Linked DNA regions of Homo sapiens: regions 1, 2, 3, 4, 5 and 7 are each linked to region 6. Evidence: promoter capture Hi-C in 16 types of primary human blood cells and fetal thymus (Javierre and others, 2016). All regions are on one chromosome and are shown on one strand. The core of a region is centred on a gene start or on the middle of the fragment in contact, and the rest is flanking DNA. Distances in the headings are between cores, read along the strand shown. Region 1 overlaps HSD17B4 (hydroxysteroid 17-beta dehydrogenase 4). Region 2 overlaps TNFAIP8 (TNF alpha induced protein 8). Region 3 has its middle 63 kb from the start of TNFAIP8. Region 4 has its middle 26 kb from the start of HSD17B4. Region 5 has its middle 41 kb from the start of HSD17B4. Region 6 holds the start of DTWD2 (DTW motif tRNA-uridine aminocarboxypropyltransferase 2). Region 7 overlaps TNFAIP8 (TNF alpha induced protein 8).

Region 1 (3,678 bases), core at 436-2,935, 500 kb before region 6:
TAAATAGTTTTTAAAAATTCCTTAATGAGGTAAAAGTAGAGCAGGCAAAATTCTGAATTACAGATGGCTTGAGATTATTAAATTTTCCTCTTCTATAAAACAGAGTTGTAAAGTTCTTTCTACCTCTACTATGCCACAATTCACACCCAATGGCTGTGATTAGGAAAGTGGAGGTGCATATATCTGCTCAGAGATATGCAAACTGTTTTTTTTGTCTTAACTTACCCATCAGCTTTTCATTCAAATGAAATAAGCTAATATATCCCTCACTTTAAATTGAGCCAGGTTTACAACAGGTTCTGTATACAACAGGTTCATTATTACCACAGATAATTTAAAATGGGGGGGGGTCTAATATACAACAGTTTAGGCTAGAAAAAAGAGATCAAACTCAAATGAGTAATCAAAAATATATAAATTGGCTTTAAAAGGTCTAAAAGAACTTTCATCAAAGAGTGAACAATGGATCTCACTGCATGATGGGATTATGTGTGGATAATTATTTTTATAATAAACATTTAAAGCTCTGCAATAAAAAAAACAGAAAAGTTCATTTTTTATGTAAAAATAAATAATGTTATATTTATTGACCTATCACACAAGATTAAATTCCTGCTATACTGATAATTAAAATTGGTGGTTGAGTGCTATGTATTAGGCCTTATGCCAAGGGTTTAAAATATGACTTGTAGTTGTCACAAGAAAGCCCCAGAAAACTAAAGCTCACGAAGGTCAAATCTGCAATTCCCAGAATAAGAATTCAAAATCTGGCCTGGTTGACTCTAAACTCCAAGCTTCATCTTTCCACCTTATCATTCAGCTTCTTAAATAATGAAATTCCCCACATTTTGACCGAACAGATCAAACCAGCCACATTTTCATTTGGTAGGAATGTTACAAATGTAGAACTAAGTAAAAACAGAATTTATAAAGTTACTATTACTTTCCAAAAAATGGATATTAGTCAACACTTTTAATTATAACATAGACACAATATTTAAAAATATACAAGTGATGTCCACTGGTACAGATTTTTACAAATGTAAGCAACTGGAGAAAACTAATAAGAGAAAACAGGAAGGTGCAAATACCTCAAACAAGCCACCATTCTCCTCACAACTCTCGTGACAAAGCCAAAGGACAAGAGGTGCCACATACTCTGGCTTCAGGGCTTCCACAAGATCTGAAATAAAGAATATACACATATCTTATCAATCATTTTACTTTCTAAGAATTTCTTACTTATAAAATTATAGGTAATTCAGAGACCTTTAAAATAGGAACAAAATTAGTATGTATATAACTAGTCTAACATTTAAGTCTTTGCGAAGAACTTTTTGTAATCTCAACTGAGCCATTTCTAAAGGGCTCTCAAGCTTCTAAAATTGTAAGTATCAGACACACCTTTCCAAGATGAGTAACATATTAATACTGTTCAGAAGAAGAAAAGTTAGAACTGCCTAGACAAAGATTGGTGAGCAAAACTGTATTTAACATGAGAAATCTGGGTACCATTCATTCCCAAAATTATTCTACTCTCCCAGCTATTAACAACAATCTAGAAAATCACAAAACAGCCTAGACCATTACAGTGGCAAATAATGATTGAGAGTGCTGAATCCTAACCACTAGACCACCAGGGTAGGCAGATAATGATTGAAATAGACCTTGAAGACATCACTGGTGAGTGCACAAAGTATAAGAACTAATTTCCCACTGCATATGTTACCTTTTGAACTTTTTAAAAATTAATATATAATAGTTGTACATATTTTGAAGGTGCATGTGATATTTTGATACCTTATACAATGTGTAACGACCAAATCAGGGTAACTGGTATATCCATCAACTCAAACATTTATCTTGTCTTTGTGTTGAGAACATTATAAATCTTCTCTTCTAGCTATTTTGAAATACACAATAAATTATAGTTATCTATAATTTCTCTATTGTACTATCAAATACTAGAATTTATTCCTTCTATCTAAGCTTACTTTCGTAGCCCTTAGCCAACTTCTCTTTACCACTGCACCTTTTCTGTGAGTACCTTGGTGAAGCAGAAAGGTACTACATGAAGAACATGAAGACTTTGATTTTGGTACTGAACCTGCTATGCAAGCAACTTAGGAACCTGAGCCCATCATTCAACTTCCCTGGGCCTGTATCTTCATCAGTAAGCTAGTAATTTAAATGCTTCTGCTTCCTATTCCACCAAGTTGTTCCAAGGCTCAAATGAGATACAATTTGTGTCTTACAAATCATACAATTTTATCTAAAAGATCAAATAAATGCAAAAATTGTGAAATGACAAAATACAATTTTGTATTAATGTGTTAAAGTAAAAAAGATGGTGTATATAGTCCTGTAAATTAAAAAGTAGTTGCAAAAACTCTTCACTTTATAGCCTCTAAAAGCTCTCAAAAGTACACAAGCATTCCAATGGCACCCTGTCTTCCATTTTTCATTATATGCACGAGGAAAAAACAAAAGGAAGACTCCAACCATCTCAAATTGTACATTAAAACAAATTATTAACTTAAATATCCATTCATCTCAATACATAACATTCCTCTAATTTCCCATACATCAATTGACAAAACTAAATGTTAAAGGATATTTATGTACAGGGATTTGGATATTTGAGTTGGCTAACTTCAAACTGAATGAGAAATAAACATATCTATAAAATGCAACAGAGTATCTATTACCTTACGTGAGAAAAAAGAAAAGAACATAAGCCACATACAAAAAAATACGTCTGCCTTGCAGTTTATTTTATATATTATCACTAATAATATAAGCAAATATTCTTGCTTTCCAGTTCATTCTCAAACTCCTAGGTTAGCCAGCATCTATTAAACTCAATGTTATAAATAAAAAACCAACCTTAAGAGAGTAAATAAAAGATCAGAGAAGTCCCATAGCTATTAAGATATAAAGTTATATGAAATCAAAAATAGAAAGGTTTACTTACTCAACCCAGTGTTTCTTCCACAATACTAGATGTCAGGATATCTAGCATTACAGTGAGCCAAGTACTCTGAGGAATACTTCTGCTTCCAGAAATGAGATTCTTTTAAAGCATTACTGAGATAAAGAAGGTATCCTCCAACCAGAAAAAAAAAAAAAAAAAATAGAAAAGAGTCCCTAGTGCTACATGCTACAGGGAAGGCAGGGTTGCCCTGAGAATGATACAAATAACAATACTGATACCTAGGTACTCAGAGATAGGCCAGCATCAAGATGGGGTCCTAAACCTAAACTGTTCTACGCTGAACTTCAACTTTTAAGGAAGACTGAAGCAGAACAAAATTGGCTATGCTTCCTGGTAATCAGCAGTAGCAAAGACAGATCCTCTCTGAAGAAAACATTGCCAATTTAGAACACAGAACAAATACAGAAAAAGATCAGGTAAAGAGCTGGTAATTAGAAATCACCAAGCACACAATGAAGGGAAGCCACTATGAGTAAAAGTTAAAAGAAACAGCAGATTTGAACTACAATGGAATAGAAATGTTGGAATTTAAAATATATTATAAAGAAAAGTTAACTATTGATTAGCATTTGTACCCTTCCTGACTCAACAATTTTACTTTGAAGTACATATCCTAGAAAAATTCTTGTTCTTGTAATCCAGAACACATGTACAAGAATAAAAGCAGATTAATTAAAAAGCAA
Region 2 (4,191 bases), core at 921-3,420, 400 kb before region 6:
TGACACCAGCCTGGGCAACATAGCAAAACCCCATTGCAACAAAAAACTACAAAAAAAAAAAAAAAATTAGCCAGGTGTGGTGGCATGCACCTGTAGTCCCAGTTACTAGGGAGTTGGAGGTGGGAGAATAATCTGAGCCTGGGAAGTTGAGGCTGCAGTGAGCAGTGATTGCACTACTGCACTCCAGCCTGGGCAACAAAGTGAGACCCTGTCTCAGAAAAAATTAAAATTAAATAAAATTGAGGAAAAGAAGAACCAAATTAGATTTGAAATTTGGACCAAAGTAGTTCGTGGTATATAGTAGAGGCAGCTGCAAAATGGTTCCTTATGACCTGAACATCATTTATAAATATACAGTGCCATACATCCACTCAAAGAATGTCTTGATTGAATAAGAAAGGGTCCCCTCACAAATGTCGAAATTTAAACTTCTGAAACATGAACTGAAACTGCAGAAGAACTAAAATATATTTTGAAAAAGAGAAGGAAAGTGAAAATGTGTGAGAAACAGCCAACTTTATGGAGAAGTTTCCATCATTTAATGTTTTATGTTTTTATCATTTAAGCAGAAATCTGTTTCTATTCCTATTCTTCAATGATTTGCAAAAGAGTATAAAGATTAATTCACACTAAAGAATTTATGTCAAAAGAAATGGCATCCATGTAGCTAACAGTATCACATTAAAACCAGGGACCATATTTCATCTTAGAACTCCTGATATAGACCTCAAAAAAAATCAATAAACTTGATTTATATAGGGATACCCAACCATTTTCAGCTACTCAGCAGATAACCAGGATTTCAGTAATATATTACATATAAAGTTGAAATGTTATTGTGTTTTTTTTTAATGTTTTAGAACATGGCACAGTCTACAAATATCTTACCTGGGATTTACTACAAGTCTATCAGTTGGACATACTTTATGTTGTGAAATATTGAAACCAGAGGGAGAGGTATTCATAAGATTTCTCCTTTATCCAAGACTGGACTTTCATGTTTACACCTCTTCTCAGCTACTTTTCTGATTAAATCTCAATATCCCATTTAACTTCAAACATGGAAAACAAAAACTCTATGATACAGCACTTCAACTTCCTGCAAGAGAGTGTGTAACAGGCAAATCTACTGCCAACTAAGCAAGATCATTCCCCATTTACTGGTAATCAAGTATGAATCAAGATAGAGAAGTTGATCTCTGAGGCTTTCATATTTATCCTAGAGGAACTTCAAACCCCGCTCCAGAAACACAGCAGCTGTGTCACACTTTCCTTTTATTCTTTGGGTTATTCCAGTGAAGTCGTCTTTTTAAATGAGGTTGAAGCTCCTTGTTCCCCTCCACCATCTGAAGCTCTTTCTCCCCCTCCACCAAGAAGACATGCATGAGTAGATTTATTTTCCAGCATTAGAGAAAGTTTTTTTGAAGCCAACTGGGGCTTGTGGCTGAGAGTCGCTGGCCAGGGATGTGTGGTCTGTGCTCATGAAGTTTGTTTCTTTTTCTTGCAAATTAACTGCTGTTAGCCATTCCTGTGCAGGCTCATTTGTCAGTTCCACATGCTCTACCAGATCCCTTAAAAGTCTGGTGTATCTCAGAGCTAGTCCTGGATCAAGTTTTTCTCCTTCAGTCTATCCTCACCCCTGTGTGATCTCATCCACTGCCACAGCTTCAGATACCACCCATGTGCCAATGACTCCCATAGCCATAACTCAGCCCTGACCTCTTTTCTGGACTCATTTTGTAAGTGCATTCAAGATTTTTCTTTCCTTGACTATTTTGCAGGCATCTCAAATTTACCATATGCAAAACTGATCTTTGATTCTCTCCTGCCTCCCTACTAAGTGCTCCTCTTTCACTCTTTATGATCTCAATTAATAGCATCCCTTCCAACCTTTTGCTCAATCAAATCAGAGACCTGGGGATCATCCACCATACCATTCTCTCCCTCACCCAGTCCATTATTAAGTTCTTTCCATTCCACCTTCCTCCTGCATTTCTCTGAATTCTATCCATTTCCCTCCATCTCCACGGACAGCAGCCTAGTCCAAACCCCTTTCTATCTCTTTTCACATATCAGCCAGAGTTTCAAGAAATGAAATTTGCAAATGGGGCCGGGCGCAGTGGCTCACACCTGTAATCCCAGCACTTTAGGAGGATAAGGTGGGAGGATCACTTGAGCCCAGGACTTTGAGACCAGCCTGGGCAACATAGCAAGACCCTGTCTCTACAAAAAAAACTCAAAAAAAAAAAAAAATAGCTGGGCATGTAGTCCTATTTGCTCAGGGGGCTGAGGTGGGAGGACTGCCCGAGCCCAGGAGTTCAAGGCTACAGAGCTGCAGTGAGCTATAATCATGCCACTGTACTCCAGCCTGGGCGACACAGCAAGGCCCTGTCTCAGAAAAGAAAAGAAAAGAAAAGAAAAAAAAAGATGCTTCATGTAAGTTCTTTGCTAACTATCACACCTCCTTGTTCCTTAAATCCTCTTCATTTGCCTACATTTTTATTGTCTGCCTCTCCCTACTAGGATTTAAACTCTGAGAGCAAAGATTCTGTGTATCATGTTCACTGTGTCAACTTGCAGGCCTAGAGAGTGGCTGGTCCAGAAGCAGCAATCAATTTCCCCTATCTCATCCACAATATACTCAAATACTTTTCTATGAAAACATGTTGGCCTGTAAAACGAGAGTTGTAAATACATTAGTGGGTGTTTTTGTTTGTTGTATTAAAAGGTAGAAAAACAGGTATTTGTTTTACCTCACTAAACATGTGGTTTTTCTTCCCTCTAAGTGCGCTCCAGAGTATGATTTCTCTTACTGTCATCAACCAGTTCTTTTAAAGAGGAGAGATTTGTTGTGCATAATGGGAAAACATCCAAGGACAATAATGCAAATATTTAGAGTAAAAGCAAGGTGTAGTTCTGACTTGAACTGTAGCAGGAGATTAAACACAGGCCCACCTCTACTTCTGGCTGGATCTATGTTTAGACATGTGCCAGAGGGATACCTAAGGCATGTCCTGGGAAGCAACTAAGATGTAAACAGGAGATGTTCCCCAAGGAGAAAGTGCTGAAAATATTCATTCAGTTTTTTGCCTCTTAAGATCAATTCACTTGTGTTTGGAAACAGACATGTAAATTGTTCATTAATGAAGAATAATGCTGTATTTAAAAAAAAATACAAAGCATTACCACCACATTAAAACTGTTTAAGATTATTTTCTAGAAATAGGGTGTAAATGTTATTTTACATTACTTATCTTACCTCCCTCCCTCTCTGTCTCTGTATCTCCTCCCTTGGCCATTTCAGCAACATTTGCTGTAAGGCAAAGTGATATTTAGGGAATTCTGGCTTTAGCATCAAAATTATAAAGTTAGAGATAAATATGGTTAAAATATACTGACCCAAATATTCAAGAAAAAATATGCTCAGAAGGAAAAAAAAGTCCTTTGTTATTAATACTTAGTTTTATGAAAATTAACAAAAATGCCCCATAACATAACTACTCCCACTGAGAATTTTCTAATAAAGTACTCAAATCATTTTCTTTACAGTCTTACCAGTAAATACATAATTTTTTCCCCTCAAATCTATTATACTTGGGACTCTTTAACAGTGATGACAACAGATGTACATACATTGCAAATTCTTGCCTAGTTAAAACTCGATCCAGGTTTCCAATATTAGGAAGGATAGAAAAGATAATAATTTGGAAAGCATGTCTGGCTGTTGTCTGTTAATAAAAGTTCTTTAAATAAATATATAAAACCTTAGCTCTCTTGTATCTAAATAATTCTAAATCTAATGGGACTTAGTAAAAAGTCAGCTTTGGTGATAAGAAAGTGGCCAGAACAAACAACGAACCCTGTCATAAGAAGTCAGCAGGCGAAGAGTTGACCTCCCTACATGGAGATTTGGCAGTGCTCCAGAGAAAAGCAATGAACGCTCGGAGTAGCTAGTGATGTGTCAGTGTCACCAGCTTTCATACTCAAAATCCCAAAGTCAGAAATTCAACAGCATAGAGAAGAAACAACAGAGGGAAAGAGAGAGGGAGAAGGAAGGAAGGAAGGAAAGAGAGGGAGGGAGGGAGGGAGGGAGACCCAGTAGAAGCAGCACAGATATGAACTCTAAAGGGGGCTGCCCTGGAAGGGTCAGAAGCAACGACCATGGCAGCAAGCTGGAGGCAATCTTATCAA
Region 3 (3,749 bases), core at 602-3,101, 300 kb before region 6:
CCTATAGGTCTAACGTTAGACTAAACGTTAGACCTATAGGTCTAACGTTAGACTAAACGTTAGACCTAAAACCATAAAATCCCTAGAAGAAAACCTAGGCATTACCATTGAGGACATAGGCACGGGCAAGGACTTCATGTCTAAAACACCAAAAGCAATGGCAACAAAATTCAAAATTGACAAATGGGATCTAATTAAAGTAAAGAGCTTCTGCACAGCAAAAGAAACTACCATTAGAGTGAACAGGCAACCTACAGAATGGGAGAAAATTTTCGCAACCTACTCATCTGACAAAGGGCTAATATCCAGAATCTACAATGAACTCAAACAAATTTACAAGAGAAAAACAATCAACCCCATCAAAAAGTGGGCAAAGGACATGAACAGACACTTCTCAAAAGAAGACATTTATGCAGCCAAAAGACACATGAAAAAATGCTCACCATCACTGGCCATCAGAGAAACGCAAATCAAAACCACAATGAGATACCATCTCACACCAGTTAGAATGGCAATCATTAAAAAGTCAGGAAACAACAGGTGCTGGAGAGGATGTGGAGAGGATGTGGAGTCCCACTGTTGGTGGGACTGTAAACTAGTTCTACCATTGTGGAAGTCAGTGTGGAGATGCCTCAGATCTAGATCTAGAAATACCATTTGACCCAGCCATCCATTACTGGGTATATACCCAAAGGACTATAAATCATGCTGCTATAAAGACACATGCACACGTATGTTTATTGCGGCACTATTCAGAATAGCAAAGACTTGGAACCAACCCAAATGTCCAACAATGATAGACTGGATTAAGAAAATGTGGCACATATACACCAGGGAATACTATGCAGCCATAAAAAATGATGAGTTCATGTTCTTTGTAGGGACATGGATGAAATTGGAAATCATCATTCTCAGTAAACTATGGCAAGGACAAAAAACCAAACACCGCATGTTCTCACTCATAGGTGGGAATTGAACAATGAGAACACATGGACACGGGAAGGGGAACATCACACTCTGGGGACTGTTGTGGGTTGGGGGGAGGGGGGAGGGATAGCATTAGGAGATATACCTAATGCTAAATGACGAGTTAATGGGTGCAGCGCACCAGCATGGCACATGTATACATATGTAACTAACCTGCACACTGTGCACATGTACCCTAAAACTTAAAGTATAATAAAATTTAAAAAAAAGAAAAAAAAGAAGGTATTGGGAAGAGCTAACACGTTAAAAGTGAATTGATATACTATGGATTTGGTTCCAATGAAGGTAAAATTATGTCCCAAGAGTGCCTAGAACATCCACCACTGTAAAGCGCTGCAAGTGTTATCTGACATCCATACAATAACATGCATGTGACTGCCCTTTTAAAAACTTTTTATTATTCAAATTTTCAAGCATTCATGAAAGTAGAAAGAGTATAATAAACTCTCATCTGTAACCCACCTTCAACAATAACCAGTATTTTGCCAATCTTGTTTCATTTGTACCTCTCTACCCCTTGACTCTTCTTTTGTTACCATTTTTCCCCATAGCCTTATTGAGATATAATTTATCATTGTAAGTGTACAATTAAATGATTTTTAGTAAATGTATACAGTTGCGTAACCATTACCACAATCCAATTTTTAGAACATTTCCTCATCCGGAATAAATAGTGACAATATAGTACACATACACAATGGAATACTGTTCAGCCTTAAAAAAGAAGAAATCCTGTCATTTATGACAACATGGATGAACCTGGAGAACATTATATTAAGTGAAATAAGCCAGGCACAGAAAGACAAACACCACATGATCTCACTCGTATGTGTAGTAAAAAAGCTGAACTCAGAAATGAGTAAAATGGAGGTGACTAGAGGTTGAAGGTTGGGGGATGGGGAGATGTTGCTCAAAAGACATAAAATTTCAATTAGACAGGAGGAACAAGTTCAAAAGGATCTACTGTACATCACAGTAGCAGCAGTTAATAACAATCTATTGTACATTTGAAAACTACTAGAAGAGTAGATTTTTCAGTATTGGCACCACATATGAAAAAAAAGGGATGTGACGTAATGCATGTGTTAAATGGCTTGATTTAGCCATTCCACAACATGCATATATATCAAAAATCATGTTGTACACACATGTATATACAGTTTTTAGTTGTCAATTAAAGTAAAATTTAAAAACAAAATTAAAAAGGACTCCTGCCATTGGTGACAACACAGATGAACCTGGAATAATGCTAAGTGAAATAAAAGTCAGACAGATAAAGATAAATACTATTTTTTTAAAAAAAAGAAGAAGAACATTTCATCATCCCACAGCAGCCATTTTTAGTTAATTCCCATTCTTACTTCAGCCTCAGGCAGCCACTAATCACTTGCTGTTTACAGATTCGCCTTTTCCAGGCATTTCACATGAACAGAACCACACAGTATGTAGCCTTTTGCATCTGGTTTATCTTACCTGGCACAATGTTTTTGAGATTCACCCATGCTGTAGCAGGTACAGTACTTTGTTCTTTTTTATTGCTAAATAGTATTTCATTGTGTGTGTGTGTATATATATATATATATATATATATATATATATATATATATGCTACATTGATTATTCATTCACTAATTGGTGGATATTTGAGCTGTTTCCAGTTTTTGGCTCTTATGTATAATCTTCTATTAACACTTGCTTATAAGTATTTGTATGGACATGTTTTCATTTTTTGGGGTAGACATCTGGAAGTAGACTTGCTGGGTTTTGTACTGTCTTTTACCCAACAGAATAACAAAATACCATATGATATAATGTTTTATTTAATAAATAAGGAAATGAAAAGTCCAAAGACATTAACTAATTTCCTCATACTCACAGTTCATTGGTGACAGAGAAAGAATTCAAACCCAGTACGGCCCATTCTTCTTTTTTTCTTCTTTTCTAATCAGTTTCATTCCTGCTCCTCCCAGAAACACTCCTCCTGGAGCCCTCCTCCTTCAGCTCTATTCTAGATGGGCTCTTCTCCTTGGGCCAGAGCTGCAATAGGGAACTTCCCTTCTCAAGTCCTTCTGGGGCTCCCCTTTACCTCCTGCAGACTTTCCCACCCCTACTCCCATCCTAAAGCCTCTGCTTCACCTATGCCTCTGGGGAACTGGGGAACTCTCATTTCTGAGCCTTCCTGGCATTCTGTGAGCAAATCAATCGCTTCCGGTCCTCTCCCGGTGAGCCCTGCAGGCATTTTATTCTTGACTTCACTTCTCCTCTCTGCAAATGCATTTGCCATCACTTCATCTGCTTTCTATCTTTAGGTCCTGTATGGGTCAGGGTTACAGATGTCTCCAAGGTTTATAAGGATACAGTCTGCATTCCTGATTTTCATTCTTTTAGTTTGAGGGAGATTTTCAAGAGACAAAAGCAAAAATGTCTTTGCTAGTTTGAAAGAAGAAATCTCCAACTTTCTTGAAACTATCTCTTGAGTGAAATACTTACCCGGGCAACGAAAATACAAGGACAATGAATGACTATTCCATTCAAACTAAGGGGCATAAGAGGGAAAAAACTCTGCCCCAAATCCTAAAAAGGAATTTTATCCCATAAACATATGCATGAAAGAGGCTGCCTTTCACTATTCAAAGATGAAAGCAGCCCTTCCTGCACTCCGTGGCTGGTACTGCCTCATTAGTTTAACTTACGCAAAATAAGAACACTCTTTGAAGCTAAAAATAATCCATGAGTTTTTAAAAATAAAATTATTATTCCAA
Region 4 (3,877 bases), core at 158-2,657, 440 kb before region 6:
GCCACTTTTCTCCCAGAGGATGGGGAACCAATCGAGCATGACTGCCAACTAATTATAGTCCAGACTTATGCCACCCAAGAAGTCCCCTTAGTTATTCCTGACCTTAACCTATACAGCAATGAAAGTTCATTTGTGGAGAATGGGATACGAAGGACAGGTTACGCCATAGTAACAGTACTTGAAAGTAAGCCTCTTCCCCCAGGGACCAGAGCCCAGTTAGCAGAACTAGTGGCACTTACCCAAGCCTTAGAACTGGGAAAGGGAAGAAGAATAAATGTGTATACAGATAGCAAGTATGCTTATCTAATCCTACATGCCCATGCTGCAATATGGAAAGAAAGGGAGTTCCTAACCTCTGGGGGAACCCCCATTAAATATCACAAGGAAACCATGGAGTTATTGCACGCAGTGCAAAAACCCAAGGAGGTGGCAGTCTTACACCACCAAAGCCATCAGAAGGGAAAGGAGAGGAGAGAACAGCAGCATAAATAGCTGGCAGAGGCAGCAGAAAGGAAAGAGAGAAAGAGACAGAGAAAGAGAGACAGAGAGGAAGAAACAGACAGACAAAGAGAAGGAGACAGAGAGAGGAAGAGACAGAGACAAAGAAGGAGTCAAAGAGAGAGAGGAAGAGACAGAGAGACAGAAAGTCAAAGAAGGAAAGAGAGGAAGAGACAAAGAGGGAGTCAGAGAGAAAGAGAGAGACAGACAAAGAAGTCAAAGAGAGAAAGAGAGAGATAGAAGTAGTAAAGAAAAAACAGTGTACCCTATTCCTTTAAAAGCCAGGGTAAATTTAAAACCTATAATTGATAACTGAAGGTCTTCTCTCTAACCCTGTAACACTCCAATAGCACCTTGTTGTCAGTGTAAACAAGGGCATAGCCCGAAAGCACTGAGGCCACTGAAAAACCATAGCCTTCCTATCAAAAATCCTTAACCCAGCAGGTTTCCTAACAGGGGATGTAAATCTTAATTAATTACCATACAAAGGTCCGACCAGATCTAGGAGGAAACTCCCTTCAGGACAGCATGATAGATGGTTCCTCCCAGGCGATTAAGGGAAAAAGACACAATGGGTAAGTGATAAGGAAACTCTTGCAGAAGCAGAGTTAGGAAAATTGCCTAATAACTGGTCTGCTCAAATGTGTGAGTTGTTTGCACTCAGCCAAATCTTAAAGTACTTACAGAAACAGGAAGGAGCGATCTATACCAATTCTAAGTTAATATGAACTGAACGAGGTTTTGTAATAGCAAAGAAGAATTAAAATCCCAAACTTAGAAGGTTTTCAACTAAAGTTTGCCAATAGTTAACAGTGTAACATGTACTATCCTAATACCACACACTCTCAAAGGATTTCTCAGTTTGCAAGAAATAACAAAATCTATCCTTACTCTACAATCCCAAATAGACTCTTTGGCAGCAGTGACTCTCCAAAATCGCTGAGGCCTAGACCTCCTCACTCCTGAGAAAGGAGGACTCTGCACCTTCTTAGGGGAAGAGTGTTGTTTTTACACTAACCAGTCAAGGATAGTATGAGATGCTGCCCGGCGTTTAAGGGAAAAGGCTTCTGAAATCATTCATATTCCTGCAAAGGACATGACCTCATTCTTTTTTATGACTGCATAGTGTATATGTAAACAGGTGACATGTTTGACAGGAAAGGTTTGGCAGGGTTAGTGGTGTTCTTTAAGGCCATGCTGGCCTCTGCTTCTCCCTCAGCTACTCCCCAGCTACTGAGAAAGTATGTGGCAGATGAAACTTGTGCTTTATTCACATATTTGAGGGGTCCCAGGAGTCCTCAACCCATCTGCATTTGACTCCAACTCAAATCTATCTGGCCTCTGAATTATATTTTCATCAGTATGTGGGCTTAAGTAGTCCTAGAATATGCTGTGCTTTCTCTCTTTCTATACGATTTTTAACAACTTCTATGTGAGTCTAAAATTATTCCAAATAAAACATTATAAAAATAAAAATTTTAAATGAACAAAAATATATCTCTTCCATTCCATCCAGGAAGCAAAGGAGATAAGAATAGGATCTTCAGCTCACTTACGGCATAAATCAACAATAAGGCCATTGTCATTCTGCTACAGTCAACCTGTGATGCTTTAAGATCACCTGCAAGGCAATGTCTTCTCAAAGTCAAAATGTATCTAGTGTTTCTATCCTCTTCACTGCCCTATCTCTTCAGGTAGAGCCAGGAAAAAGAAAAATATGTTGATTCCCTGAAGAACCCAGGCAGACCACACCCCTATTATCCACCCTCCTAATCATCTTCATCCTTTTCACAGTAAGAATTCTACTGATCTTTGCTGGTTGTTAGAACTCCTCCCATGTTTGTTCTCCTTGCTCCCACCTTATGGATAGCTCTATTCTGAAGATTCACTCTTCTAAGGGAGACACTAGGCTTTTTGGCTTAGTCCGAACAGTGTATGGAAAGCTGGGAGAACATGAAGAGATATTACGATGAAACCGCATTCTTTTTCTTTTTTGCTGCCTAGTCTCTAAATTACCTTCCCATTGTTGGATAATACCTTACTTGTTTCCTACTTCAGAGTCTGAAAATACTGGGTACTCTTCTTCCCAGCCTCCACTGCAGCCAGGCATAGCACATGACCTAAGTTCTGCAAATCATGTACTTCCTCCCAAGGCACTGAATTGAGAAATAATGATTGATGGGGTGAATGACAAACTATACAGAATGCATTCTGGTGATGGATAGTTGGAGGAGAAATGGCATCAGTTCTAGCAGGAGTGAGCAGGATTCAGTGGTGGTAGTCTCAGGGGTGCAAGTGGCGTCATCTAATATCCAGCTGTGAGGATAACAGTATCTTCATCATACCAACTCTGTGGCATGATTTAGACATAGCTCCTGACTGCAGAGCCTCGGAATCTAGCTTTCTTCCCCCCACCTAGAGATTCTGGTGGCCACCTTGTGTCCTTTTAATAATCCTTCCGTACTTAAATCAGACAGAGTCAGTTTTTCTTGCTTATGAATAGGAACCCTAAGCAAGACAGTTATTTCCAAAGTATTATTCTTGTTACATAGGTCGTGGCTGAAGCCATAGTTCTTGTAATGATTTTAAACAGATTCTGTGCCTATCACTTCCCCCATCCCTTGCAGGGTCTCAGCGGCCTACCAATAGCAAGATTACATTGTTCTATTAACAGGTTTCCTCTGGGTATGAAGAAACCTTAGGTTGATTATTTTTACCAAAAATATTCCTAAATCAGCCACAATTTCCAACATCAGAGATTACATTTGGACATGTAGGAAAAAAAAAAACATTATATATACTAAGCACATACAATGGGATTCACAAGGCAGGGTGAATCCCATTGAGAGCCAATTCTCCATAGACCTTTCATGTTTCTGCTCATCTTATGACAAGAGGTACTAACTACCCTTTTGTCCTAGACTATCGTTTTAAGGATGTTTGTATAATGAATAAGACAATGAAATGGAAAATAGAGATAGCATTTGCTTATGGAACAAAGGACAGGTTTGTTTACTGTCCAGTGTCATAAATATAACATCTCCCTCTTGAGCAAAGTTCGGGAAGGTTTGCTTGCAGCCATTATAAAAGATCCAGGTTTCCTAGCCTCAGAGTTCTTCAGCTGTGGCACAAAACTGCTGCATGCTCAGCACCAACCTAGGCCCCTCTGCCTCTCACTCATGGAGCATGGCAAGGACAAGGAAACCAATGAAAACATGAAACTCATAGAACTTGTGCTGTAAGCAATAAAAGCATTTGTCTCTGACCCTGGAGTCTGGTATCTTGTCTCAGCATCCACTGAACTAGTTAGGCTAACTAGTCAGCTTGCCAGTAAGTTATAATCTCAGACCCTTCACAGTTCTTGACAAATCCATACTAA
Region 5 (3,925 bases), core at 1,341-3,840, 420 kb before region 6:
TGGCTTTATGATCCACAATACTGTCAATTTTAACAGCGAAGATGAAGCTCTTTTTTTTTTAAGTGTTGAATAATGATCCATTCTGTGGATGTGCCACATCAGTAGAAGGACATCTTGGTTGCTTCCATTTTTGGCAAGCCATAGTCTTTTTGTAACCTAAGGAAATGATATCCCATAACTTTTGCAATATTCTCTTCATTTGAAGCAAGTCAATAAGTCCACCCCATGCTCAAAGGGGAGAGATTGTACAAGGGCATGGATACCAAGAGGGAAAGATTGTGGGGACAATTGTAGAGGCTGCCCACCCTACCAGGAAAGACAAATGTTTACAGTACCTTGACCACGCCCAAGCAGCCAGGCCAGTTAAAGAATGCCCTGTACAGAGTCCATACCTGTGAAAAAAGTATAGTATTTTTGTTTTAATGTCGCATAATTTACCAAAGTACTGAAAACTTTAAGCCACACTGCAGATGTACTTGGCCCTATTGAGAATAATCCTAAAGCAATGCATAGCACTTTAAAAATTGCTGCCAGCTCATTTTCCTTGAAAAACAGAATCTATTTCTAGTACATTTTCTTGGAGAGCTGCCCATCCTATTCAAGTTTTCAAAAAAGGGACCTTTCAATTAAATTGTCATTTGTTCCACTCCTGCCTGTGCTGCAGAGGAGAGCATGTTACAGAGAATACAATATGCAATAAGTAAAATAATTCCAAAAATATTACAAACATACATTACATCGCTGAGATGTATGTATGAATTCAGATCCTACGTTTTAATTCTTGTAGGGAAATTTTATATTATTTACCCTCAGCTGAAGTAAAAGAGTAAAATTCTTTTGCTTTCTTTCCTTCCCAAGTCGTATAATCCCTGTACTAGTCCAATATTTGGTGAAAAAGGTGTTTGTGAAGCTATATATTGGCAGGAACAATGGATCTACGTGCTAATTTACGACTTTTTACGACTGAATTCTTTAACTCTCTGAGAAGTGTGTCCAGATGCACATAGACCCTCTTTGCTTTGTGTCCTTAGATTATTACATCCAAACTAATTATATTCTCACGTTAAACAACAGAGTGATTGATGCAAACATGGTCTGTGATAGAAAACACTGGCACCATATGGCCACAAGAGGGAGTAAAGAGCCACAGAAACATTAGCGTCTTCAAGGCTAGGCTCTACCATTCCCGAGGAAATAGAGAACTTTTGTTGTTTCTATTTCCCCCACTCTCTTTTTCCTTCTAATAATTCAGAGACTTTCTTCTGACCAAAGGCAGAGCTAGTATCTACAGATCTCGCTGTTACGATGAGGCAAAGTTAGCCCGGAGCAGCTTCTTCTCCCGCTGCTGTCCTGGCTGACTTCCCCAAGGAACACTTTCCAATACCAAACTACCAGCAGTGGGCTCCTGTCTCCGTGCTGAGGGCACCCTCCGGTGCCTGTCTCTGCTCTCCGATTTGCCACCAGAGCCCAAATAGCTGGTTTATGGGAAGACTTGTTATGTTGAACGCTTCAATCGCTTCTTAAATTGATTTATCATGGCACTGAAGCAATTAGATGATATACAGACCAATGAATCCCTTGTAAAGGCTACAGTAAGCACTCAGTAAGAGGAGAAAAATCAGATTGAGAGCCTGGGGAAACATACTTTCCTAGGAATGACATAAATGGAAATCCCTCAATTACACTCCCCATCATTCCTGAGTCCTTGGCACCGGGCGGGGGGTAGGGGGTGGGGGGACGTTCTAAAACTCAGCCCCATAAATGGTGGCATGTTATATACCAAATTACCATACGGTTGTTTGGGGATTTGTTTTTTGTTGTTGCTATTAGTTCAGCTTGAACAAAGGAGTGATGAATAGAGCTGAGTAAGATATTTAGTCCCTCAGCAGAATTACTCAGAAGCTGCAGGCAGTATGTCAGGCAAAAAATACAGGGAGGAGTCAACACAATGGGAGATAAGTTATGACTGAGACAATAGAAATACAATTCCTTGAATCCTGGCTGTCGCTTATTCATGCACATGGATTCATCAGAACAGGTTGCCAAACTACAAGGGAAAAAACTGAAAATAAATTGCCAAATGTTTGCCACAGAGTTTATTTTCCTATTACATTTCTTTGATAAACTCTTCTCCAAAGGATTCAAAGAGTTGTGCTGAATGGAAATTTCTTTTAAACACTGCCAGAGATGAAGTGAAGTCTCACCTTGATGGTGGGAGAAAAGATGGGAGAAGGAAAAAACAATAACCAAGATGCCTTAAAGCAGAGAGGACTGGAGAAAGAGCAATGGCTAAATTCTTCAGTGTGCAAACATGCAGCTGGCTACAGGAAGGAGGGTGCAGCCAAGGCTCTTCACTACAGAGATCTTGAAAGCTTGGAGGAGCATATTGCAATTTTGGAGACTCATCACATTCCGCATCTTGGAATCCTCCAGCAGAGTTCAGATCCAGACTCCTCAAACCCGCCAGATGCCCCTCCCTAACACCCTTCTGCTCTTAACACTGGTCCCTCCTACACAATGCTTATTTATTATGGAGAAATCTGTGCCTCCAGCTCACCATAAACTTGTATTCCTGCCATGGTATATGTTCCTTCCCAGCTTGAGACCTGCTTGAATCAATATCATTTTACACCTGGGCCCCAAAGCTCAGGGACTTCTGAGAAGCAGGCCAGCCTTGTACTCTGGCTGAGAAGTCTCTGTGTCAAGAAGACTCATCTCAGAAGTCTCAGCAAAAGAGGAGGAAGTCCCGGTGGCCTGTCATTATCCATCTCTGATCCAATCACTGCAGTCAAGGGAATGTGAAGCTTTGATGGTCAAACATGGTCACATGCCACCCTTAGAGCTGGAAATCAGCTCCACTGGAACCCCCAGCCTTGAGAGTAGAAGCGTAGACTCCCTGAGAAGGTTGGAGGCTATTTTAAGTAGAGTAAGTGGATGCTGGGCTGTCAGGAAGCAAGACAAATCCACCTCAATCACTTTTCAGCCCTTCCCTCTCTGTAGTCTAGCACAGCCCAGGTGACTATGGAACCTTGTGTATTTGAATAGAGAGCAAATGGAGCTCTTGGTGTTGTGAAGTGTGGTGGCCCTGACTCTCAGCAATCATGTGCTGGTTGACCTGTGATAAGGATCATTAGTATTCATTTGCTCAGTACTGTTTCAGTCTCTGCCCATATCTTTCATTAATTTCTATAGTCACCAAGTCACATACACACAAATCTCAAGGAGACAAGCCAAGACAATGACAACATTTGATGACAACAACACAGATCTCAGATAATAACTGTTAAGGTGATAAGGGAAACTTCAGGAATCCCTGGGGTGATAGAAGATGTTTATTAGCACTGTCTTTAATTCATCGTAGTACAAGGCATGTTATCAATACAAAATTTACATGAAGTAAGTCATTTGTTTCAGGTGTTTACCTGAAACATATTGAGTTCCCTCTTTGAGCATTGCAATAAAGTAATTACCTTTTGCTCCCATCTGGTTCTTATATTAACTACATATAATCAAATCAATTATTAAGTGGTTCATCAGAAAGAAGCAATTGTCCTTCCTAATGAGACATCGTCCCCAAACTTGCAGAGCAACAAGCAGAAATAATGAAAATATAACAATTCTTCCCAGGAACAACATCCCTTTTCCTCAAAGTGATGCAGTTCTGTCCTGTCCTCTGCAGCTTGCCCCTGGAAAATCCCACTGTCAGCCTTGTGAGTGATTCTGGGAGTACTGACTCCTGGGAACTAGATCTCCTGATGAGCTCAGACTTTCAGTGAACTACTGTGAGCACAGGGGCCACGAGCAGGGGCTTTGGACTCAAATCCTGCTAGACTTGAGTGTGCACAGGGAAGGGGACGTCAGTGTGCACAGTGGCTACAAGAACAGGCACTGGATTCAAACCAGCTGCCACCATTTACCAGCAGGT
Region 6 (3,884 bases), core at 9-2,508:
AAATCTACAGACAAGATGAATTTTCTGATTCATCTCCTTTCCTACAGTTTCTGGATTTTGTTTATCCTCCGATTCCAAATGGCATAATTGCTAGTTCTTTCTCCCACTCTACGTCCATCACCAGGTGGGTGTTTCAGCCTTTTTCTATCCCTCACATAGGACGCTCCAAAGGAAAAGAGAGGTGCTGTTTCCGGGGGGAAAGAACGTAGGATAGTTGAAAACAGCACGGTATTTTATTCACAAACTTGATTTTAAGATGACTGAAAAATCTAATGTGAAATAAACATTTTAAGAAATACAGTATTTGCTCTATTACTGTGTTGTCTACTTTGCCTCACATTTAATCTATTACAACTATAGAGTTAAGACAACTGTGATTCCTAAGCTTAATTCACATGATTGATCAAAACCAAGCTTAATTCTGTTTTAATGTTGTGTATTGCTGGAAGTAACACAAAGCATTAATAAACAAAAGGAATTCGATACCCATTTTGGGTAAATAGTATTTCTGCCTTCATTCTAACATAGATTTCATTTTGGCTTTTAAAAAACAGCTGCTGTGCTATATACCGCCGTATCCAGTAGTTGTTAAATACCTGGGCAACGTTACCTTTCTAGGGCTTGTTTCCTCATACATAAAACCTATTGGTACCCCGGGCCAGCTCTCCTATTGCTTCCTGATCGGGGACGATCTAAAAATCTAATTTAACAAATATCTGGTGTCCAGTGTAAAATAGCATGCTTGATGTCTTATTAGCACAAGACATAGAAGAGCAGGAAATTCACATAAGGAAACGGACCAGCTGTGAGTAGTTCCCAGTGGATATAACCTCTCCTTTGTTGGCCTTTAAATAATAAGTGCATCAGCTGCCGCACCTGCGATGCATGCACGCGTGGAAATCCTGCAAATTCTTAAACTGCCATCCCAAGGCGGAAAATGCAGAATTCCATTTTATTTTAACTTTTAAAGGAGTTAAATTCGGGCTTGGTACTGGGGTCCTCTCGGGGAGGTTTCCCTTACCTCTCCCAATGACGCTACTTAACCTCACCAGCACTCCAACACTGCCCACACTTGCCTACCCAGTTCTAGGTGAACGGTCCCACTGGGCACGGACCAATGGGCTCGTTCCTTCCCAGCGGCAGGGTGGGACCTCCAGCCTGGGCTTCGGAGACCCGCCCCCCGTACGTGGCGTGCGGGCATTGCGCTACGCGGCGCGGGCCGGTTTCTACAGCGCGTGGCGCCCCCCGGCGGCAGCCGGGCTTCAATGCCACGGCCTGACCGGAGTGTCCGCCATGGAGTCGCAGAAAGAGGCACGAACACTCCAGGAGCCCGTTGCGCGGCCTTCTGGGGCCTCAAGCTCTCAGACGCCGAACGACAAGGAGCGGCGGGAGGGCGGCGCAGTGCCGGCGGCGGCTGCCCTGGGCGCAGAGGCGGACGACGACAGTGCGGACGGGCTGTGGGAGCTGCCGGTGGAGCCGGCCGAGCGGAGGCCTGAGTGCACCCGCTGCAGGTGACCGCGGGGCTGGGGGCGGGGACTGCAGCCGGCAGCGGCCTTCGGAGGAGGGTGCGGCGCCCCCTGCCGGGGAGTCGGCGGCTCGGGCAGCTCTGCGATTAGGGCGGCGGAGTTGGCGGGTGCACGTTGGAAATCTCGGAAATGCCAGGCACAGCTACCTAGTAAGAAGCCCTTTTTCCAGGTTCATGATTATCTAACCTTACTTCCTGCAATATGCTGAGCGTATCATGGGATGAGCAGACATCAGTTCTGTTTCCAAGAAACTTAAGCGTCCAATAGGGGAAGTAAGGGGTGATGACAGTAATACTTGTAAAATAGTTACACAGTCATATTTAAGTGGCATAGTTATATCACAGTTAAAAAGCATAAAGTGGATTGGAGGAGAGAGACAGTCTCCTTTACCTATCCTACCAGAACTCTAAATATAGGGCCTTTTCAGGTGTTCATTCTAGGTTCTCTTCAAACCCTACATACGTCCCACTGGTAATTTATAAAATCAGTTTTCATGGTAAATTATCATCTATATCCCAGTGTGTCTAGCTCAGACCTTTCTTCGGAACACCAGACCTGTGCATTAATTTATCAGGTGTTTATTGAGTGCTTTGGTAATCACTGACAATGCAGTGGAGTTCATGTTTTTGTAGAGTATTCTCTTACTGGATACGGATAATAAACCAGCAAACAAGCAATCAAATATGTAATTACAAACTGGGAAAAAAGCAGTGAAGGAAAGGAATGGGTTGCTACTGTAGAAAATAGCTCAATGGTGTCATGAACTATCTCTGAGATTTGAAAGATGAGAAGAATCCAGCCAGGGGAAAAGCATTCCAAGAAGGGGAACAGAAGGACTGAATATGGTTGAAGATCTTTACTGCTTGAATACTTGGAGTATCACACTTTGGACATTTTGACCTTTTCCTAGGGCTGGATTGTAAGACTTCAGAGGAAAGGATCTTGAATGTAGAATGTTTTTATATTTTCTAAATGTACTATGTATAGTTGACGCTCAGTAAACCTCTGAGGAGGATGGAAAATTTGTGATTAGAAGGGACTGTGAATTTGAACATAGGGGTTTGTGAATACAATTAATTTAAACAAGTCGTCTGAGGGGGTTGGGGAAGCATTTAAAAATGTTTGGAGGGGTCTCAATAGGATACTGGAGGAAAAGTGTTTCAAATATAAATCAAAGGCTAAATTACTGTGCTAGTTTTATTTAGTTTTTAGTCTGTTCAGAATTGTTAATTATAAATATATAGGTAAAAATCTGTTTAGCAGAGATTTATTTTATGATGCTTTTTTAAAAAAATGGCTTGCTGAATTTAATCTTTTTTTCAGTTACGTTTAGTTAATACCTTAGGATTACAATTTTCCCCAACATTTCTGCACTTTGCTTATTTCTGGTGAAATTTGCTACCTGTGAAAAGCTCTCCTCCCTCTTGCTATGCATTTTATTTGCTTTAATTAGGTAGACTATAATTCTACACTTTGCTTATTTCTTGTGAAATTTGCTACCTGTGAAAAGCTCTCCTCCCTCTTGCTATGCATTTTATTTGCTTTAACTAGGTAGAATATAATTCTAGAATTATGGAGAATATTTAGGTGTTGTCAATAAAATATAAATGAATTGATGGCTTTTTATATTTTATTTCATTATGCTATTAGAGTTCTACTAGTACCCTGGGTGAACTTCTTTACATTTATGGTTAAAATAGTTTTAAAAATGCATTCTTAGATTTGATTGATCATTGAGTCACAGTTATTTGGCTATTTACTTAAACTGTATTCATTTCTCTGAACACATTACTACAAATGTCACAGCCTAGGGGAGTTCCAGAAATTAGCTTTGTTCAGGAAGTGCAAACTCAGTTTAACTTTTCAGCAGAATCTTGCTCATTATAAATATAACATATCTTAAATATGAATGGAATATTCTTTAAAAGATCCCAAACTTGTAATTTATTATTGCAAGATATAGATTCTATAAATGTATTCTGTCCTTTATGTATGTCTTGTTTACAAAACCTGCCTGTATTCCATTTACCTCTTAGAATACCTTTCCTATCCCCCATTCCCAAACGTATATAATTTTTTTTTTCAGATAAAGACAAAACCTTGGCTGATCTCCCCAGAGTATGTATCATTAGCATTATTTGAGATAACATAAGAAGGCTGAGGGTCATGGGACATGGTAGGTGCACAAAAGATTTGTTGAACTACTTGGTAAAATTCAGTTGTTCAACAAATATTTTTGGAGACCCTTCTTCCAGACGGTGTGATAGGCTATGAAATACAAAGATGAAAAAGAGATGACTTCAGTTCTCCTGAATATCAGGATCTAGTGGAAAGTGGCATATCTATTTAAATGGGGAG
Region 7 (3,684 bases), core at 1,088-3,587, 380 kb before region 6:
ACGCACAGTCCAATGCAGGGTATATTCTATAGCAAATACTCAAAATGAATGCTGTCTTATCTTCCTTGTTAATGTATCAAAATAAAATATTTTTTCACTACATCTACAGAATAAAATAAAACCATGTATGCTACCCCATCAAAATTTAGAAACCATGTTTAAACAAATGTTTTGACACTAGCTAACATGAAAAGGGGATTTAATTCTTGAATGTCTAGCATCTATGAAGTAATTTTCTTCCATTAAGTTTACATTATCACAAAATAGAGCAATCTTAGATACAGGCAAAAAAGCAAGCTACAGAATCCTTGAGTTGAGATTCCAGGTTCCCAAAGGAAAAGATTCCAGGTTCCAAATGTAGGCCTTAATAATCTCCCAGCTCTCTAAAGTTTTAATGGCATCTAATAAAGTATCAACGGGTTAGGCACTGGGTCATATTTTCTTGAGCTGACTTACTGCTCACTGCATTCTGATGGAGGGTAAAGAATGTGAAATATTTTTATATATTTTTAAATCATTAGGGATAGCAGAGAAGATGCTTGGAACTCTGGCTGCAGACTGATGTTGGGTCATAGTAACCACTATTCCTTTGTCTCTGGGCCCAAGCCCAGGAGGGGCCAGTGTTTTGCACCCTTCTGCTCTTAGAGGCAAGATTTTCTTTCCAGGCTTAATTCAGACCATTTTGACTAATAGCTTGCCTTTATTACCCATTATTTTATAGAACTTCCAGGCAGGAAGATAAAGGGTCTTTAATTTACTGTCAAAGTCTGATAAAGTCTATTTATCTTTTAACTTCTCTGTGTAAACTCAACATGGGAAAAGCTGGGATTTTAGTTGTTAAATGCATGAATTAGGGTTTGAAAGCCTCCTTTACTCAACTTAAAGAGTTTTATGTGTGGATTCATGCATTGTTTCTCTGTTGCTCAATCAAGTAATATCTTTCTCTTCTCCAATCTTTCTGCTGAAATTTGATTTTTATTTTAAATTAGAGTTAACTAGTAATAAGCTTCTGGACTGATTTGTGTTCCAGTGGCTAGAACCCAGGAAGAACTCCAAAGATGTTAAATTCCAACAAATTAAAACAGAGAGCTGCTTCTGTGGCAAAATAAACAAAAATCCATTTAAAAAACAATAAAAAAAAGAAAAGCAGGCATTTCAAACACAAGGGTTACCTAAAACATTCCCTTTTCCATTGCTGCCACAAGATGTGACAGAAGTTTTCAGACAATAAAGTGTGATTGGACCAAATTTGAAAGACAATTCATTTCAGTTTCCACCACTTTTCAAAAGAGTAAGAAGTGACCCCATTAGAGCCCTCCATCGGCCTAGACAAACCTGGTTAAGTCCCTCCCATGGGTCTGTCTGTTCTGACTTTAGGCGTGAGAACAGTGATCCAAAACACAGACTAGGAGATGGAATATCACTCACACTGGCTCGAAGGGAGCCAGCAAGAAAAAGGTCCTACCAAGCCTTCCTAAAGGTCACCCCATATGCACAATACATTATCAATGTCTGGTGTGGTTTTGACAGACTGTGGTACCATGGATGATACAACTACCTATTGAGTAAAACACAGTCCTATGCCTAAAAACCAAACAATGAGGCCAGAGGCACAAAAAATATCAATGTATGGATGATTTATGAATCTCATGAAAAACTGCCTAAGTTTTAATTCTGCAAAATATTTTACACTCTGAATCATATGCCTGTCCTCACACCTCACTGGTTATCAGGCATTTTCTGTTTGCCTACAATGTGCCCATCATCATAAAAACTAGAAGACGCTTACCAGCCACTTTCAGGTCCAAGAGTCTTGAGCACTACAAAGCTAAAGAAATTACAGTTTCAGACCAGGGATTCATTTAACTCAATGAAAGTTTGGGCCAGGTGCGGTGGCTCATGCCTGTAATCCCAGCACTTTGGGAGGCCCAGGCAGGCGGATCACTTGAGGTCATGAGTTCGAGACCAGCCTGGCCAACATGGTGAAATCCCATCTCTAATAAAAATACAAAAATTAGCTGGGCATGGTCATGGGTGCCCATAATCCCACCTACTTGGGAGGCTGAGGGAGGAGAATCACTTGAACCTGGGAGGCAGAGGTTGCAGTGAACCAAGATTGCACCACTGTACTCCAGCCTGGGTAACACAGCAAGATTCCCTCTCAAAAAAAAAAAAAAAAGAAAAGAAAAGAAAAGAAAGTTTGGCTTATGTTAACAGTTCCCTTTTTTTCCCTAAAAGCATCCTATTTGAACAGGTATAGGGTATTTAGGGTAGAGGATTCCAGTATTTTCAAAAGGCCGGAGTTTTATCAAGCTCAATGTACAGCATAGCAGGGGCTACTCAGGCCTGCTCCCATCATGAAAGAAGAGTCAAGGAGCTCCAGAGCACAAGCACCTCAGGGTCACAGCCATGTCCTGCCCCAGAACAAGAACTTAACCTCATTCTTTATAAACATGGTTTATTGCTAAGTTTGGCAAATGAAATTTAGTTGGGTCCCGAAAAATGTCCCAAAGAATCATTATTGACTTTACCTTACCCCAAACTAAAAACACTTGCAAGCATTTTGTATTTCAAATCATCTTTCCCTGGCACAGTTTCTTATTTGAAAAACAAATAGACGCTCAGAGATTGACACTTGCATGGAGTTAAGTCTTCAGAAAAAGAAAGTTTTTTGTTGTTGTAGACACTCTCATCTAATAAATGCTGTGACTAATTTAGTATTTCCAGGAAATGTGGTGTCAAGGCTTCTTAAACCCCAACACAAACACACACACGCACACACACACACACACACACACACACACGCTGCTTAGAATAGGTAAGTGAAAGAAAGAAGAGAAAGTGTGGGTTTTTTTTTTTAACAGACAGGAGGGAAAATTATATTATTTCGGGAGATAGCAAAAAAAGTATGAACTTACTTTTTAAGTCATAAAGCAATAACTGTAGGCAACAAGATGCCAAAAAACCTGTTAGTATCTGTCAAAATAGTATGATTCTTCCCAAGTTGCTAAGTGACTACCTGACAAATGAAATTAAGAACTACAAGACTGATGGGAAGCAACTTTTGGGGAAAAAAATGCTATTTCAAGTGGACCACAGATTCAAGAAGAGAAGTCATGTAGTGTACCTGGCACACACTTGCTACTTTTAATTTAAGCTGCTTTACAGGCAGGGAAACATTATTTCACCATTACCTACCTCAGTGGGGAGATGACTTAAAAGGAACTAAACATGAAAGAGATAACAAGGAGAGAATACTGACTCTAGCTGATTCTCATGACTATTCAAATATCCTCTTATTTCATTTTTAAAAACTGAACAAAACACCAGCATCATGAAATAAATTTCAATCTATATAATAGAATATGTCAGGTAAAGTGATGGCCTGAAAAAAAATGAGAAAGCAAAGGGATAGGCTTTGAACTTTAACACTCATCAGACATGTTGAAATGAGTGACAAAGACCTATTCTGTCCAGAAATCCCCGCTTTATTTTTAAGCCTGGAAACTGGTTTGTCATATCTATACTGAATACTTCCTGTCCAAGGGCATGCTAATGGCAACAAACTGCCAAGTTTAGTAGCTGCCTACATGTAGTCAATTGAGTCATTCATGGAATAAAAAACAACATCAAACATTTTTTTAAAAATCTGGCTAACTGAAGCTTTAAAAGATATACAATTAA

What was found. The method cuts DNA at HindIII sites, captures the fragments that hold promoters and counts their contacts. A CHiCAGO score of 5 or more calls a contact.
Region 1: a contact is called between a fragment that was not itself captured here and the fragment with the promoter of DTWD2 in region 6, in 11 of 17 cell types (activated CD4 T cells, total B cells, naive B cells and 8 more). The highest score is 16.8, in activated CD4 T cells.
Region 2: a contact is called between a fragment that was not itself captured here and the fragment with the promoter of DTWD2 in region 6, in 6 of 17 cell types (naive CD8 T cells, neutrophils, total CD4 T cells and 3 more). The highest score is 8.7, in naive CD8 T cells.
Region 3: a contact is called between a fragment that was not itself captured here and the fragment with the promoter of DTWD2 in region 6, in 1 of 17 cell types (fetal thymus). The highest score is 5.6, in fetal thymus.
Region 4: a contact is called between a fragment that was not itself captured here and the fragment with the promoter of DTWD2 in region 6, in 14 of 17 cell types (activated CD4 T cells, naive CD8 T cells, total CD4 T cells and 11 more). The highest score is 20.7, in activated CD4 T cells.
Region 5: a fragment that was not itself captured here is called in contact with the fragment with the promoter of DTWD2 in region 6 in 16 of 17 cell types (fetal thymus, naive CD4 T cells, naive CD8 T cells and 13 more); the score reaches 42.5 in fetal thymus.
Region 7: a contact is called between a fragment that was not itself captured here and the fragment with the promoter of DTWD2 in region 6, in 14 of 17 cell types (fetal thymus, activated CD4 T cells, naive CD8 T cells and 11 more). The highest score is 17.6, in fetal thymus.

The regions. Positions count from the first base shown.
Region 1 is chr5:119,486,697-119,490,374 of GRCh38, reverse strand. It overlaps HSD17B4 (hydroxysteroid 17-beta dehydrogenase 4), which reads right to left. Exons shown (of 24, transcript NM_000414.4): 9 at 1,092-1,183. Among named protein-coding and RNA genes, the nearest start is that of HSD17B4, 36 kb to the right of the region's middle. The HindIII fragment of the contact is 613 bases long and covers 1,379-1,991 here.
Region 2 is chr5:119,386,861-119,391,051 of GRCh38, reverse strand. The region is part of intron 1 of TNFAIP8 (TNF alpha induced protein 8); the gene reads right to left. Among named protein-coding and RNA genes, the nearest start is that of TNFAIP8, 33 kb to the right of the region's middle. The HindIII fragment of the contact is 9,397 bases long and covers 1-4,191 here.
Region 3 is chr5:119,291,491-119,295,239 of GRCh38, reverse strand. It overlaps a transcript of TNFAIP8 not described here. Among named protein-coding and RNA genes, the nearest start is that of TNFAIP8, 63 kb to the left of the region's middle. The HindIII fragment of the contact is 5,662 bases long and covers 1-3,749 here.
Region 4 is chr5:119,425,023-119,428,899 of GRCh38, reverse strand. No RefSeq gene overlaps it. Among named protein-coding and RNA genes, the nearest start is that of HSD17B4, 26 kb to the left of the region's middle. The HindIII fragment of the contact is 5,143 bases long and covers 1-3,877 here.
Region 5 is chr5:119,409,439-119,413,363 of GRCh38, reverse strand. No RefSeq gene overlaps it. Among named protein-coding and RNA genes, the nearest start is that of HSD17B4, 41 kb to the left of the region's middle. RefSeq lists a silencer at 1,016-1,310 and enhancers at 1,267-1,396, 2,783-3,052. The HindIII fragment of the contact is 432 bases long and covers 2,375-2,806 here.
Region 6 is chr5:118,985,921-118,989,804 of GRCh38, reverse strand. DTWD2 (DTW motif tRNA-uridine aminocarboxypropyltransferase 2) reads left to right here and starts at 1,258. Exons shown (of 6, transcript NM_173666.4): 1 at 1,258-1,511. The coding sequence starts at 1,294. RefSeq lists a silencer at 1,345-1,674. The HindIII fragment of the contact is 4,492 bases long and covers 417-3,884 here.
Region 7 is chr5:119,367,551-119,371,234 of GRCh38, reverse strand. The region is part of intron 1 of TNFAIP8 (TNF alpha induced protein 8); the gene reads right to left. Among named protein-coding and RNA genes, the nearest start is that of TNFAIP8, 13 kb to the right of the region's middle. RefSeq lists an enhancer at 3,475-3,574. The HindIII fragment of the contact is 2,657 bases long and covers 1,009-3,665 here.